Linked DNA regions of Homo sapiens: all the other regions are linked to region 3. The links are contacts of gene promoters, found by promoter capture Hi-C in human tissues and cell types (Jung and others, 2019). All regions are on one chromosome and are shown on one strand. The core of a region is centred on a gene start or on the middle of the fragment in contact, and the rest is flanking DNA. Distances in the headings are between cores, read along the strand shown.

Region 1 (5,083 bases), core at 473-2,972, 190 kb after region 3:
TAGCATTTACTTACCACTTCATAGGCACATGATGGCAGTTGAACTTCCAAACTTCAGGTCTGCTTAGAGGCAGGAATAAAAGTGGCAAAACACTTAAAGAGTATACTCAACTAGGCTGGGTGCAGTTGCTCACGCCTGTAATCCCAGCACTTTGGGAGGCCGAGGCGGTTGGATCATGAGGTCAGGAGTTTGAGACCAGCCTGGCCAAGATGGTGAAACCCCGTCTCTACTAAAAATACAAAAATTAGCCAGGCATGGTGGCATGCACCTGTAGTCTCAGCTACTCGGGAGGCTGAGGCAGGAGAATCGTTTGAACCTGGGAGGCGGAGGTTGCAGTGAGCCAAGATTGTGCCACTGCATTCCAGCCTGGGCAACAGAGCAAGAATTCGTCTCCAAAAAAAAACAAAACAAAACAAAACAAAACCACAAGGCGGGGGAGCTGGAGCATACATGTTTGAAGTAGAATCTTTGACAAGCTGTTCTGCATCCACTCCCATTTCTGTGCTTCCATATTTGTTTTCTTTCATTTTGTTTTCTAGAAAAAAAAATTTTTTTGGTAGAATTCTCTAGGAAAGCTACACTCCTGTGTCCTAGGGCCCAACAACAAGCAAGACAGGCATAACAGCTGGGAAACCAATCAGCTTAAACTGAGACAGACAATATCAAACAGGCATGTCAGGCCCCACGAGAACATCCACCCTAAATCCAGAAGGCATTATGACCACATCGCTTCAGCTGCCTGGATTTCAGGTATAAATTAGTTCTTCTACAAAGAGGGCACTTGGTCTGTAAACGGGTCCAAAGGTAAGAGTCCCACCGCTAAAGACCTATCTCTCTTCTACACTAACATGGGGGGGCAGTGGGGAAGAAAGGGGCGAGAAGAGGTATGGAGGTTTTGGGAGGGAGTGGGAGAATTGGAGGCTAGAGAGATCGTTTCTGTCCCACCATCTGTGTGACCCCAGTGCCCAGCACAATGCAGCCCACGGAAAGGCACTGGTCCTTTCATTGACCATTTACTGAGCATCTACTACATGCCAAAAAGCGAGATGGGTGCTGTGAAGGCAGAAACGGATTTGGAGATAATCTCCGCCAGGCATACTGAGGTCAAGGTTTTCGTTCGTTTGTTTAGAGAAGAGACGGAGAAGGTCAAGGTGTTTTTGTTTGTTTTGTTGTTGTTGTTGTTGTTGTTTAAGAGTCTTGCTCTGTGCTCAGGCTGGAGTGCAGCGGCGTGATCTCGGCTCACTGCAACCTCTGCCTCACGGGTTCAGGCAATTCTCCTGTCTCAGCTTCCCAAGTAGCTGGGATTACAGGCGCGCGCAACCACGCTCAGCTAATTTTTGTATGTTTTGTAGAGACAGGGTTTCACCATGTTGGCCAGGATGGTCTCGAACTCCTAGCCTCAAGCGATCATCCCCTCTCGGCCTCCCAAAGTGCAGGGATTACAGACGTGGGCTACCGCGCCTGGCCTATGCCAAGGTTTCAAGAAGGTTTAGAACTCAGTATCTGCTCCCCTATTTTCAACAGCGTAGTCAGTCCCTAAAATTGACCCGCTCCAGAGTGTACTGCGCAGGCGCCCGCTACCTCCGCGCTCTCTCCCGACGCCCAGCTCAGACGGTAAGTCCCGCATGCGCACTCCGCTTTCTCTCTGACGCACCCCCGGAAGCACTGTCAGTTTCGGGGGGCGGGACCGGGAAGCGTTTCCGGGGGCTGAAGGCACAGGCTGAATCTGTTGCGGCAGCTGAGGCTACAACAGGCCTGCGCCGGCGGCAGAGAGGATATCTTGGGCGGGGGATGTGAGCGCTGAGCCCTTGGCAGGTACTGCGTGGCCAGGACCACGGGCGGCAAGGGTAGGGGAGGAGAAGTCGGTGGGGGAGTTAAGGGCTCCTCAGCAGGCCCCGACGCTCGCGCCGCTGGCCCCGCCAGGCCCATTCCGTGGACCGGCATACCAAAGCCCCGCGCGGGAGGTTGGGGTCCCGGCGCTCCAGCTCCGAATCCCGCAGTCTTCTGCCCACACGGCGCGCAGACCGCGATACCGAGGCCTTTGGGGCAGCTTCTCGCCCAAGGTCACCCTCGCGGCGGCGGAGCTCCGCCGGCCACAGCGCTTAGAGATCCCGCCCCCGTCCGTCCGCTGGCCTTTCGGGGCGTAGGGTGGGCGCGGCTTGACGACCTCGGGTTCGAGCCACCAATGCCTGAGGCCTGACGAGCCGAGCTGGGAGAAAGACTGCGCCTGGACTTAGCTGATCTTCTGTTTAAGTAAAACATTCAGCATCCCCTGTTGCTGTCTCTGTCACCTGTTGTAACCTGCCCTTTTTGTCTTTCAGCTAGGTCGCTGTCAACCTGATATTTCTCTCCACTTTGTCTTTGTCGGGGTATCTGGATCCTGTTTTATATCTGTCTCCACCTTGCTTCTGTGTCTGTTCACCCTGTCTCTGCCACTCAGCCCTTACTCTAATTCAGGGCCTGTCAGTCTGGCTTTTTGGCCATCTGTCTGTTTCTCTCTTTCTGCCAACTTTGTTTTTGCCTCTTGTCTCTCTTTCCTGAGTTTGGGTGGGGCAGGGCTGCCCAGACCTCTGAGCCATGGAAGGTGACTCATGACCCCGTGAAGTTCCCTGCACTGGTGACACTCTCAGTGACTCGACCGCAGTTTGGCCTCAACTCTGACAGGTGTCGCCCAACATAAGTGTCAGAGTGCAGGAGAGCCTGTCAGGGAGACAGGAGGCCCATTTTAGGGCCAGAGCAGCTTGATGAGTCCTCTCCTTTTCTCGCCTGTGGTTTCTCAGGCCTGCACAGCTTCCCAAATGCCTTCGCTCTATCCACTCACCACAGGATGGTCTCCAGGGATCTCTGGAGCCTGCTCTTTGAGTTACAGCTGTTTAACAGGCCTGTCTACAGGCTAAGAAAGGATCAGACTGAGGTCTTTGGGGCTACTGGAACAGTAGCAGGGTTTCTGGGATAACTGCATGCTTAGTTCAGAGATTGTGTCAGCATTTTCAGTTAAATTATAAGAAACCTAATAATTGGGAATTTATTATTTGCTTTATAAAAGCACCACGGGAGAAATAAACCACACACAAAAGGACAAATGTTGTTTGAGAGCACTTAAATGAAGTACCTAGAATAAACCAATTAAGAGACGGAAAGTAGAATAGTTTACCAGGGGCTGGGGAGAGGAGTTATTGCTTAATGTTACAGAACAGAGTTTTGGGGGATGATGAATAAGGTCTGGAAATGGGTTGTGATGATTGCACAACATTGTGAATGTACTTCACTGAATTGGACTCTTAAAATTACTTAAAATTGTTAAGTCTTAAAGTTTTATGTATATTTTATACAATACAAAAAACAAAAACAGTATTCATTGGAGACTCCTGAAACCAATAAGCTCCTTTTACATGTAATTTTTCAAAATTCATTCTGTAGTTGTTAGGAACACAGTTGAACCTGTGTTTATTGATTCCTACTCTCTTTACAGCAGTGGGTACAGCTGAGGTTCTTAGAAAAGTTTAGTTAAATGAATTTGGTTAAAATCTTTCTCAGGCTTTCTACTTACTTTCTGCCCTGGCTCTCCTCCCTCTGCCTTTCTTGGAATCAGTGCAAGAATGTGCTCATAAGTAGGATACTTGATAATTATGCTTTTCACAGGAAGAAAACTCATAAGGTTGAAAAATAGCCCTTTTATTATAATGCAAAATTATGTGTTATTTCTTGAGTTTCGTTATGGGGGATGCCTTTGTGGTTTTTTTGTTTTTTAAAATCTCTTATTTAAGCTGTCTATTTGCCTTTAAGGTAGTTTATCAAGCTTTCTAATAAGATATCACAACTGAATTACTACTTTATTTAATTGAATCCTAGATGCTGTTATTTCATGTACCACCAAGGAAGGGAGAAACCCTGCTAATTGAACTATGGCTTAATACGCTCTTATCGTTTAGACTTTTTATTATTGAAAACACTTTTAGACTTAGACACTAAAACATGGTATCAATGCCTATTCTAATGCATATATACAAAGGAAAAATAAGAACACATTGGTTAAAGTGTTCGTTAAACTTAACATTCCAAGTTCTACTCTTCTGTGCACTTTTCAATTCAGAGTGTGTCCATATTTTTTCTAGAGTGTCATCCTTTGTGTCATCAAGAACATTGATGAGGACCTCAGCAGTTCTCTATCATTGTCTCAGGCAGTGACAGCTATTAAAACTGCCACCTGGTGATCACATTCTGATTTCAGGAATTTTAAAATGTGAAAAAATGCATGTCTGAAAATTAATTGAAGAGTATCATTTTCATGAACTTTTTTTTTCTTGTTTTTGTTTTTGTTTTGTTTTGTTTTTTTGAGATGGAGTCTCGCCCTGTCGCCCAGGCTAGAGTGCAGTGGTGCAATCCCGGCTCACTGCAACCTCCGCCTCCTGGGTTCAAGCGATTCTCCTGCTTCAACCTCCCGAGTAGCTGGGATTACAGGCGCCTGCCACCACACACAGCTAATTTTTGTATTTTTAGTAGAGACAGAGTTTCACCATGTTGGCCAGACTGGTCTCAAACTCCTGACTTCAAATGATCCACCTGCCTTGGCCTCCCAAAGTGCTGGGATTAACAAGTGTGAGCCACTGCGCTGGGCCTGAACTTTTCCTTTTCAACTCTATTTATATTTGCAGTTAGAATAGGGGCTTTTGTCTTATTTGTAACATATTGAGGAAAAAATATTTTTTAAAATTTGTCGATATGTTGTTAATTTCTTGAAATGAGTACTGTTTCTGCCTTCTGCTTTCTTGATTTCAGCTTCTTATCCTGAATTCTAATGCACGTGAGGGTACAGTTAAAAACATTTCCTTGGCTTTATTGAAATTCAATGGAAGGATGATCGATAAATGGGGGGTTAGTTTCTAGAACGTTACCTTCTCTTTTGAATCTCAGAGAGTTTGCTGTAATAGAATGTTTGTCCTAGAAGTTTTTAAGTAAAACATTCAGCCGTGGCTTAAAATTGAAGGGAATCATGAATCAAACTTCATAAAGCAGGTGGCTTGTTTTTTTAAAAAACATCTTAAAATAGTTTTTACTAAGTGATTTGGCCAAAGTGTTCTAA
Region 2 (4,652 bases), core at 599-3,098, 150 kb after region 3:
CATGTTGGCTAGGCTGGTCTCGAACTCCTGACCTCAGGTGATCCACCCGCCTCAGCCTCCCAAAGAGCTGGGATTACAGGCGTGAGCCACCACGCCCGGCCTGTAAAGGACAACTCTTAGCTGAAGAGCAAGAGAGAGGTTATAGGCACCACTTAACTTTTGACATTGATAGAACCATAATTTTAAATATGTTAAAATTTTATATCAATAAAACTAGTAGAAAAGCATATATAGTTACCCAAAAAGGGGGAAAGAAAAAGAAGAAAGATCAACGCCCTACAGTACAAGCCAATAAGGAAAAAAAAAAAAAAAGCAAACCACACAACAGTGTAAGAAACAGAAACGTAACCCAGGGGGTGAAAAACAAGATCATACTGTTGCATCCAGAGGGAAAACTCAATTATTAACTGAAAAAAAAATTTTAATGTTAAATTCTATTAAAAAACAAAGATTCTCAGATTAAATAAAACAGAAAAACTACTTCCAGTTATTTCCTGATGAGTAACAAACCACTCCAAAACTTAAAACAACAATGAACTGTTATTTCTCATGATTTTGTAGCTCTGGGATGCCAGCATGGCTTGGCGGGCGTCTTTTGTTCCACAGGGCATGGGCTGGGCTCACTCATTTAAGCTCCATCCTGCGGGCGGCTGGGCTGAGCAGTCCAAGATTTTACTCACATGGTGCCTCCGTGCTCCTGCACTGTGGCCTCTCTTTCTCCAAGCCTGCCTCACAGTTTAATATTCCAGCCTGAGCTTCCTTAAAGTATGCCTGCTGGTTTCCCCAACACAACCTGAAGTCACCTGACTGCTTAAAGGCTAGGTCCAGAACTGACATCATATCACTTCCTCTGCTTGCTATTGGTCAAGGCAAGACACAAGGCCACCCGTATTGGAGGAGAGGAGAAACAGACCCCACCTCCTAGTGGGCAGAGCCATCAGGCACGAGATAGGCACAGGAAGGATTTATGGTGGCCATCTTTTGGAGACTGCCTACCTTAATTATGCTTTACAAGGGATTCCCTCCAAAGTTAAATAATTCTGAAAAATCTAAAATAAATATATTCCAGGGAAATCCAAATAGAAGAAAGAGAGTGTGGCAGTGTTCATATTTTCAAAAGTGTAATTCAAGGGAGGGAAAGCGTTAAATGGAACTGAGGGATTTTTTTTTTTCTTTTTTTTTGAGACAGACTCTTGCTCTGTCGCACAGGCTGGAGTGCAGTGGCACGAACTTGGCTCACTGCAGCCTCTGCCTCCTGGGTTCAAGCAATTCTCCTGCCTCAGCCTACTGAGTAGCTGGGATTACGGGCGCACACCACCACGCCTGGCTAATTTTTATATTTTAGTAGAGATGGGGACCTCACCATATTGGCCAGGCTGGTCTCGAACTCCTGACCTCAGGTGAGCCACCCCCCCTCAGCCTCCCAAAGTGCTGGGATTACAGCCGTGAACCACCATGCCTGGCTGGGATTTTTTAAATAATTGTATTGATAAAATACCCAATCATCAAGAAAAAATAATAGACATTTGTCGAACACTTACATGAATAATTTCATTTAATCTCATAACAATTATGTGAGGTAAATGTTATCTTTTTTGCCCCATTTAACAGATGAGGAAACTAAAGCTTAGAAAGATTAAGTAATTACTCCACCCCTACGTATTTTGTAAGGGGAAGAACCAAGATTTGAACCCATGTACCCTAACACCAGAGTTCGTGCTTTTGTTTATTGTTTTTGAGACAGGGTCTAACTCTGATTCCCAGGCTGAAGTGCAGTGGCATGAACATGTCTCACTGCAGCCTCGACCTCCTGGGCTCAAGTATCCTCCTACCTCAGCTTCCTGAGTAGCTGGGACTACAAATGCAAGCCACCGCTCCTGACTAATTTTTTTTTTTTTTTTTGTAGAGACAGGGTCTCAAACTCCTGGGCTTAAGCGATCCTCCTGCCTCCTCCTCCCAAAGCATTGGGATTACAGGCATGAGCCACCTCGCAGGGCCCAGAGTTTGTGCTCAATCACTGAGTGGCTGAGTAATCATGAATCTGAATCAGACAGATACATGGGCAGAAATACTGAAAAGAATATATAAAGCAAAAAGCAAAAATTGAGGCTGGGCGTGGTGGCTCACGCCTGTAATCCCAGCACTTTGGGAGGCCGAGGTGGCCAGATCACCCGAGATCGGGAGTTTGAGACCAGCCTGACCAACATGGAGAAATCTCGTCCCTACTAAAAATACAAAATTAGACAGGCGTGGTGGTGCATGCCTGTAATCCCAGCTACTGGGGAGGCTGAGGCAGGAGAATCGCTTGAACCCAGGAAGCGGAGGTTGCGGTGGGCCGAGATTGTGCCATTGCACTCCAGCCTGGGCAACAAGAGCAAAACTCCATCTCAAAAAAAAGCAAAAATTGAAAAACTAGGAGAATTTTACAAAAGCATGCAGAGTGGGAGATTTTAAAACACCTGACTCAAAATTTAACAGGTCAGATATTTTTAAAATCATGAAGACAATCTAAATAACAAAATTAACAAGACTGTTTTAATATATCTAGGTAGAATTTGAACAGGGAATTCCTTTTTTACCAATGCTTACAGAACATAAAAACAAATTGATTAAGTAATGAGTTTCAAAGTAAACCTTGATAAATTCCAAACAGTAGAAACTACACAGGCAATTTCAACAAATCAATAATAAAAAGACAAATGACCAAATAGAAAAATGGGCAAAGGATTGAAAGGGACTTTTTTACAAATGAGGATATATATAAATGGCCGAAAATATATAAAAAGATGCTCCAACTTCACTAGTAAACATAGAACATGAAATCAAATCAACAAATACTATTTCTCTTCACCCAAAAGATTGGGGAAAAAATAGAAAGTTGGATATCAGTTGTTGGTAAGAAAATAAAGAGAAGATTTTTTAGAGTTCTAGTGTAATGTAAATTGACATGCCGTTTTAAAGAACAATTTAGGGCCAGGCGTAGTGGTCACGCCTGCAATGCCAGCACTTTGGAAGGCCTAGGTGGGCAGATTATCTGAGGTCAGGAGTTCGAGACCAGCCTGACCAACATGGTGAAACCCCATCTCTACTAAAAATACAAAAAATTAGCTGGGCCTGGTGGCAGGTGCCTGTAGTCCCAGCTACTGGGAGGCTGAGGCACGAGAATCGCTTGAACCTGGGAGGCAGAGGTTTCAGTGAGCCAAGATCGCACCACAGCACTCCAGCCTGGGCGACAGAGTGAGACTCCATCTCAAACAAACAAACAAAAATAGGCCAGGCACGGTGGCTCACACCTGCAATCCCAGTACTTTGGGAGGCCAAGGCAGGGGGGTCACCTGAAGTCAGGAGTTCGAGACCAGCTTGACCAACATGGTGAAACCCCGTCTCTACTAAAAATACAAAAATTAGCCTGGCGTGGTGTCGTGCTCCTGTAATCCCAGCTACTCGGGAGGCTGAGGCAGGAGAATCGCTTGAACCCAGGAGGCAGAGGTTGCAGTGAGCTGAGATCGTGCCACTGCACTCCAGCCTGTGTGACGGAGCGAGACTCCGTCTCAAAAATACATAAATAATACATAAATACATAAATAAAATAAAGAACAATTTAGAAGTACGCATTAATAGCTTAAGCATATGTAACTATGTCACACACCGATTCAATTTGTAAATTCTACACCAGAGTTCTGATGCTGGCCAAGGCAATGTGTGCCACCACAACCTCTCTGTCCCACTGACTGCCAACTAAAAGATCTGGACAAAATACAAAAAGCACTGCCTGAGGATTCAGGAAATAACAAGTAGATTGGCAAGAGGGGCAAAAACTTGAAGAAAGACCCTAATGGGGTGAGTTTCCAGGGTTGTGTTCCTCTTTTATCACCCAGCTTTGACCCGAGGGTGGCCCAGATCTGGAACTGTGTAGCAGGTGCAGGCAACAAAATCTCCAAGAGAAACCCATCTTCCTGAACGGATAATTGGAAAAGGGGCCTCTTGTGAGTTACAGAGTGTAGGGTATCTTTTCTTCTCTTTTCTCTCTTTCGACCTGTCCTAAGGGTGAGCCAGTCAGAAAGCTACACTATGGTGGCAGGGGTGGTGGCACAGACACCCAAAACCCCCAAAGAAAACCCATCTTTCTTGCCGGATGAACCAGGAATAGGGGGTGTGAGGGGGGAATCCCCCTTGCTTTTTCTCTTTCTTTTCTCTCTTTGCATTACCCTGAGGGCGGCCAAAGCCATGTGGAGCTATACAGTAGATTATCTAGAGTTTTAGCCACCTGTGCTATTGCAGAAGCCAGAAGACTGGTCTAAACACACCAATTAAAAGACAACACTGGCTGAGTGCGGTGGCTCATGCCTGCAATCCCAGCACTTTGAGAGGCTGAAGTGGGTGGATCTCTCTTTTTTTGTTTGTTTTTTTTGTTTTGTTTTGTTTTGAGGCGCAGTCTCGCTCTGTCGCCCAGGCTGGAGTGCAGTGGTGTAATTGGCTCACTGCAAGCTCCGCCTCCTGGGTTGACACCATTCTCCCGCCTCAGCCTCCCGAGTAGCTGGGACTACAGGCTCCCGCCACCATGCCCGACTAATTTTATTTTTTGTATCTTTAGTAGAGACGGGGTTTCACCGTGGTCTCAATCTCCTGACCTGGTGATCCGCCTGCCTCGG
Region 3 (4,498 bases), core at 1,999-4,498:
CCGCTGAAATCTGAGCGGGAGAGCATCCCGAAGCCGCCTGCGTGGAGCGAGCAGCCCCCGCGTCATGGGCCAGAGGCGCCCGGGAGAATCTGCGGGTCACGGATCACACCCGCAGGGGCCTGGCGGAGCAAGGTGCCGTTCGCCGCCTGCGGGCAGGAGCCGGCTCTGGGCCTCGGCCCCTGCTGTGCCGTCCAGTCGGCCGCTTCTTCGCTTCTTCGGCAAGGGAAGCGGTGGAGAGGCGCGGGAGCCCCGATTGTGCTGGAGAGATCTGGGACCCCTGCGCGTCTGCGTGCGAAGGACCCGAGACCGGCCAACTCAGCTGGGAGCACGGGACACGAGGAGTGAGGACAAAGGGCAAGGAACGGGGCCTATAGGGAGGGTGTGTGTGTGTGTGTGTGTGTGTGTGTGTGTGTGTGTGTGTGTGTGTGTGTGTGTGTGTGTAGGGGGAATGAATGGACAGCGGGGAAGGCATGCAGAGGGGCCCAAGGGGTGTGGACTCAGCAGCCCCACCCCAGACCAGAGAAGGCAGCCAGGCTCTGGCGTCCACCGAGCCAGCGCCCCTATCTGGGCGCGGGCCGCATGGCGGCAGACCACCCTATATCCGCCTTGGTGGCGTGGGATATGACTGGCAGGAGCGCGGAAGAGGCGCTGAGAATGCATGCGCACCCGGACAGACCAGACGCGGCACGGAGGGGGTACTTCCCACAAGTCCTCCTGCCTTGAGACCAGGCCTTCGAGTGGTCCGGGGAATGCGCCTCTGGGCACAGCCAGCGGCCCCAGATCGGCACTGGACGCCAACCCGAGTTAGAGAAGCCTGGGAGACTGGATCGCAGGGGCCCTCATTCAGCCAAGGAGGGGGAAAGGAGAGCTGTAGGGTAGGAGAGGCCAGGCACAGGGAAGGTGGGGAGGGGATGGAGCCTTGCGCCAGGAGTTGGGGGTGCAGGGCCTGTGACGAGAGAGTATTACCATGTGCACCCTGAAGGAGAGGGAGAGGGTCTGGGCCTGGAACGAGGACTCTCGCCTGCAGGCAGTCGCCCAGCCCCGGTTGCAGGGATGGACCGCGACCAGCAGAGGGCAGAAAGTGCCTGGTCCGCCCGCCGGCCCCGAGCCGCGCTCCGCGCCTCGGGACTCTGGCTCTGTGCGCCGAAGCCTTGCCCGCCCGGCTTCTCCCTGCAGCAGCCGCGCCCCCGCCCCAGATGCCCGGAGAAGGCGGCTCAGGCCCAGCCCAACTTCGCGGGTCCAGGCCTGGGGTTTCCAGGTCAAGCAAAGAGGGGACCGAGATGTGGGAGAGAAACTCCACATTGACTGTCCACTCTCCCCGACCTAGCCACACAAAGGCGCCTAGAAATACACGAAGGCACAAAGCCCCCCACCACACACAAACACACACACACACACACACGCTAGGAGACACGCGAGCACACAGAAGCATTCAGAACCCCGGAGATAAGCACAGATACGCAAAGCTGACAGAGACACCCATACAGAAAAGGATCGCAGACACAACACAGAGGCTGAGACACGCACAAAGACTTAGGCCCCCGCATGAAATGATGCGGACACACACCCCAGACACAGGCACGAAGGACCCACACATTCACATACACACGGGTGCAGGGGACTCAGACACAGATCCACAGATTCACCCCTGGGAGTCTGGAAGGTTGCAGGGACACACATACCGTGTGTGCAGAGCCAAGGAGCACACGGAGGCAAGAGCCGCAGAGGCGGGGGCCCGACACGCACAGACACACACAGATACCCACCGACACACACGCAGGTAGGGTAGGGCGGGAGCCTCTAATCCTCCACAAAGCCGGGCCCCTCCGCGGGGCCCCGCGGCGCAGGGGGCCACTTCTGACCAAGCCTCCCGCAGGTTCCAAATCCGATCCGCCCTTTCGCCTCCAGCGAGGTCAGGGGACCCGCCCCCCATGCCCTCCGCCCCCGCCCGGCTCCGCGCCGCTGCCTCGCTCCGGGAGGGGCCGGGGCCGCCCCGCAGCGGATCGCGGGGGGTCAGCCCGCCGCTACCCCGGGCCGCAACCGCCCCCCTGCTCCCCGGTGAGCCGCGCGTCGGTGGGGACCACGGGCCGCAGACAGCCGGTCCGACGCTGTGGCCTCTCGCACCGGACGCGGGTGCCAGGCCCGGCTGGCGCGGAAGTCGGCAGCTCCATCTCGCCAGCTTTCGCGTCCCGTTGCCGAGGTCCACTTTGCCCAGGCTGGCTAGAGCACTGTCCTTGATCCGCGCGTCCCAGCGACCCCTGGCCGGGCACCCGACCCGCCAAAGGACCCCGATCTTGGCAGCCAACCTAATTTCTTCAGAGCCGCTACCCTGGGGCCACCACTCCCTCCTAGCGCCCCTCACTGCAAACCCTAGGAGGCCCGGGTCTTGCCCACTGCTCCTGCCCCTGCCCGGGGACCCCTTTTCCAGCCTTAGTTGTCCTCTAAACTCTCGGTCGCCTGAACCCAGGCCTGACCTTCCTTGTCGTCCCAGTGTCCCCCATTCTCGATCCCGGGGCCCCAACCTCCCATCGGCTCAGTCCCCCGCCCAATCTCTGCCAGGCCCGGAGCTTTCCCAGACCCCTCACCCACACTCCAGGCTCACTCCCCGTTCCTGGGCCTGGGCCCCCCTTGCACGAGTCCAGGGCCAGCCGTCCTCGCCTTCTGCCCGCCCCCGTCCTTCGTTCCTGGGAGCCGGCCCTCTCCGCGGACCAAGCGGCCCCGAGCAGGCGCCGCCGCCCGGGGGACTCCGACTCAGCCCCCGCGACCTACCTCGGCCGACAGTCGGGGGTTCCCAAGCGGCCACTCCCGGCCGGCGCCGTCCCCTGGCGGAGCCGCCGCGCTCCCTGCCGTCCGCGCAGTCTGGCCTCGCTCGGGGCCACTCCTCGTAGCGCTGGAGCTTTACAAAATATTAATAATAAAGAAGGCAGAGGAGAAAAAAGAAAGCCTTCGCTCCCCAACTCCCAAATCAATTTTTCAAGGGGGTGGAGCAGAGGGATTTGTTTCGAAGACGATCAAAACTTCTGCGAGGGGCCCGCGGGGCGGCCGGGCCGGGGAGCCGGGGCCTGAGCTCGGGGCCAGGCGCGGCGCGGGGCGCGGGCCAGGGGCGCGGAGCCCCGGGGCGCGCGGGGGGGCGGGACGGCACTATTTGACGTGGAGCCGGCGGCGCATCCCGGCGCAGGGATACCGGCCGCGGGGTTCAAATGTCAGGAAGTTTCGGGAGGTGAGGCGGCCCGTATCCCTCCGCCGCCAGCCCCAGCTCTAAACCCGGCGGCTCAGCGGGCGCACCATGGCACTGGAGTAGCGCGGGGAGCGCGCCCGGAGCCCCGCGGCCCGCTGCGCCCCGCCCGGGACCCCGCTGCGCCGCGCGCCCCCCCCGCGGCCCGCGGGGCCGCCCCTGCACCCCCACCCCCTCCCCCGCCTGCCGCCGCCGCCACCGCCACCGCCGCCGCCGCCTCCTCCCCGCGGCTCCGTCTGCAGCAGCCGCCGCCGCCGGGTTCCGGGACTGACAAGCAGGTGACAGAGGAGCCGGCGCGCGTGGCTGCAAGTGTCCGGGAGAGCGCGGCGCGGGCTGCAGCCGCCCCGGCCCGCCCGCACGACGCCGGGGCCCGGGGCCAGCGCGTCGCCGCTCCACGATCGCCGGGGGCCGGCGCAACCCCTGCCCTGCGGGGGCCGCGCCTCCCCGGTTCCAGGGCCGCGGCGGCGGAGAGCGGGTGGACGGGCCGGCGGGCGAGCAGCCCGGCCGGCGGGGTCCGCAGCGCGCCCCGCGTCCCATGGATATAGCAACAGGTCCCGAGTCGCTGGAGAGGTGCTTCCCTCGCGGGCAGACGGACTGCGCCAAGATGTTGGACGGCATCAAGATGGAGGAGCACGCCCTGCGCCCCGGGCCCGCCACTCTGGGGGTGCTGCTGGGTGAGTGCGGGGTCGGAACGCCCGAGTGGTCTCGGGCGTGGGATGGGGCGTCGTCCGGCTGTGGACACGGGCGTTGGGGCCAACGGATAAAGGAAATGGGTTTGCAGGACATGGGGAGGAGGCAGAGACAGGACTCCTGGAGTGATCGCCAGAGGGCCGCAAGTACGCCTCCGGCAGGCGTCCTGAGGGGACAGGACAGCTCCAGTCGCCACCCACCATCCTTTCCAGGCTTAGGTTCTAGAGCTGCCACTCCGATGTGGTAGGTGGCGGGTGGCAGGGGTGATGGAGGACCTAGCAATCACCTTGGCGAGCTTGGGAGAGGCGCAAGGTCACCTGGGGTGGGGGAGATTCTAAGAGAAAAACGTCTCCCTGGTCACTCAAACCACAGATTTTGGGGAGATCGGGGATAGAAGACCACGAACGCCACCGTGGGGCGTGTCAGCCAGCGAGCGCCCCAGCCTCACCTCGCCTGTCTTGGTCCCAGCCGGCCACCCTGCGCCGTGCTCGTTGTCATTTGTCTTAACACGGAGCGCGGATTCTCCGGAGAAGGGGAGAGCACAGCGCCGAGCCAAGGCTCGAGGCCCGCGGC

Evidence for each region. The method cuts DNA at HindIII sites, captures the fragments that hold promoters and counts their contacts. A contact is called where the count stands out against the background at its distance.
Region 1: a contact is called between the fragment with the promoter of ZBTB43 here and the fragment with the promoter of LMX1B in region 3, in 1 of the 25 tissues and cell types used here (thymus).
Region 2: a fragment that was not itself captured here is called in contact with the fragment with the promoter of LMX1B in region 3 in 1 of the 25 tissues and cell types used here (IMR-90 fibroblasts).

The regions. Positions count from the first base shown.
Region 1 is chr9:126,803,318-126,808,400 of GRCh38, forward strand. ZBTB43 (zinc finger and BTB domain containing 43) reads left to right here and starts at 1,723. Exons shown (of 3, transcript NM_014007.4): 1 at 1,723-1,815. RefSeq lists a silencer at 1,338-1,387 and enhancers at 1,449-1,950, 2,018-2,077, 2,488-2,597, 2,748-2,897. The HindIII fragment of the contact is 16,594 bases long and covers 1-5,083 here.
Region 2 is chr9:126,762,699-126,767,350 of GRCh38, forward strand. No RefSeq gene overlaps it. Among named protein-coding and RNA genes, the nearest start is that of ZBTB43, 40 kb to the right of the region's middle. The HindIII fragment of the contact is 5,219 bases long and covers 1-4,458 here.
Region 3 is chr9:126,610,680-126,615,177 of GRCh38, forward strand. LMX1B (LIM homeobox transcription factor 1 beta) reads left to right here and starts at 3,249. Exons shown (of 8, transcript NM_001174147.2): 1 at 3,249-3,909. The coding sequence starts at 3,771. It overlaps LMX1B-DT (LMX1B divergent transcript), which reads right to left and starts at 3,120. Exons shown (of 2, transcript NR_184148.1): 1 at 2,770-3,120. RefSeq lists enhancers at 1-233, 2,177-3,145, 3,401-3,982, 3,983-4,498 and a silencer at 955-1,024. The HindIII fragment of the contact is 15,813 bases long and covers 1-4,498 here.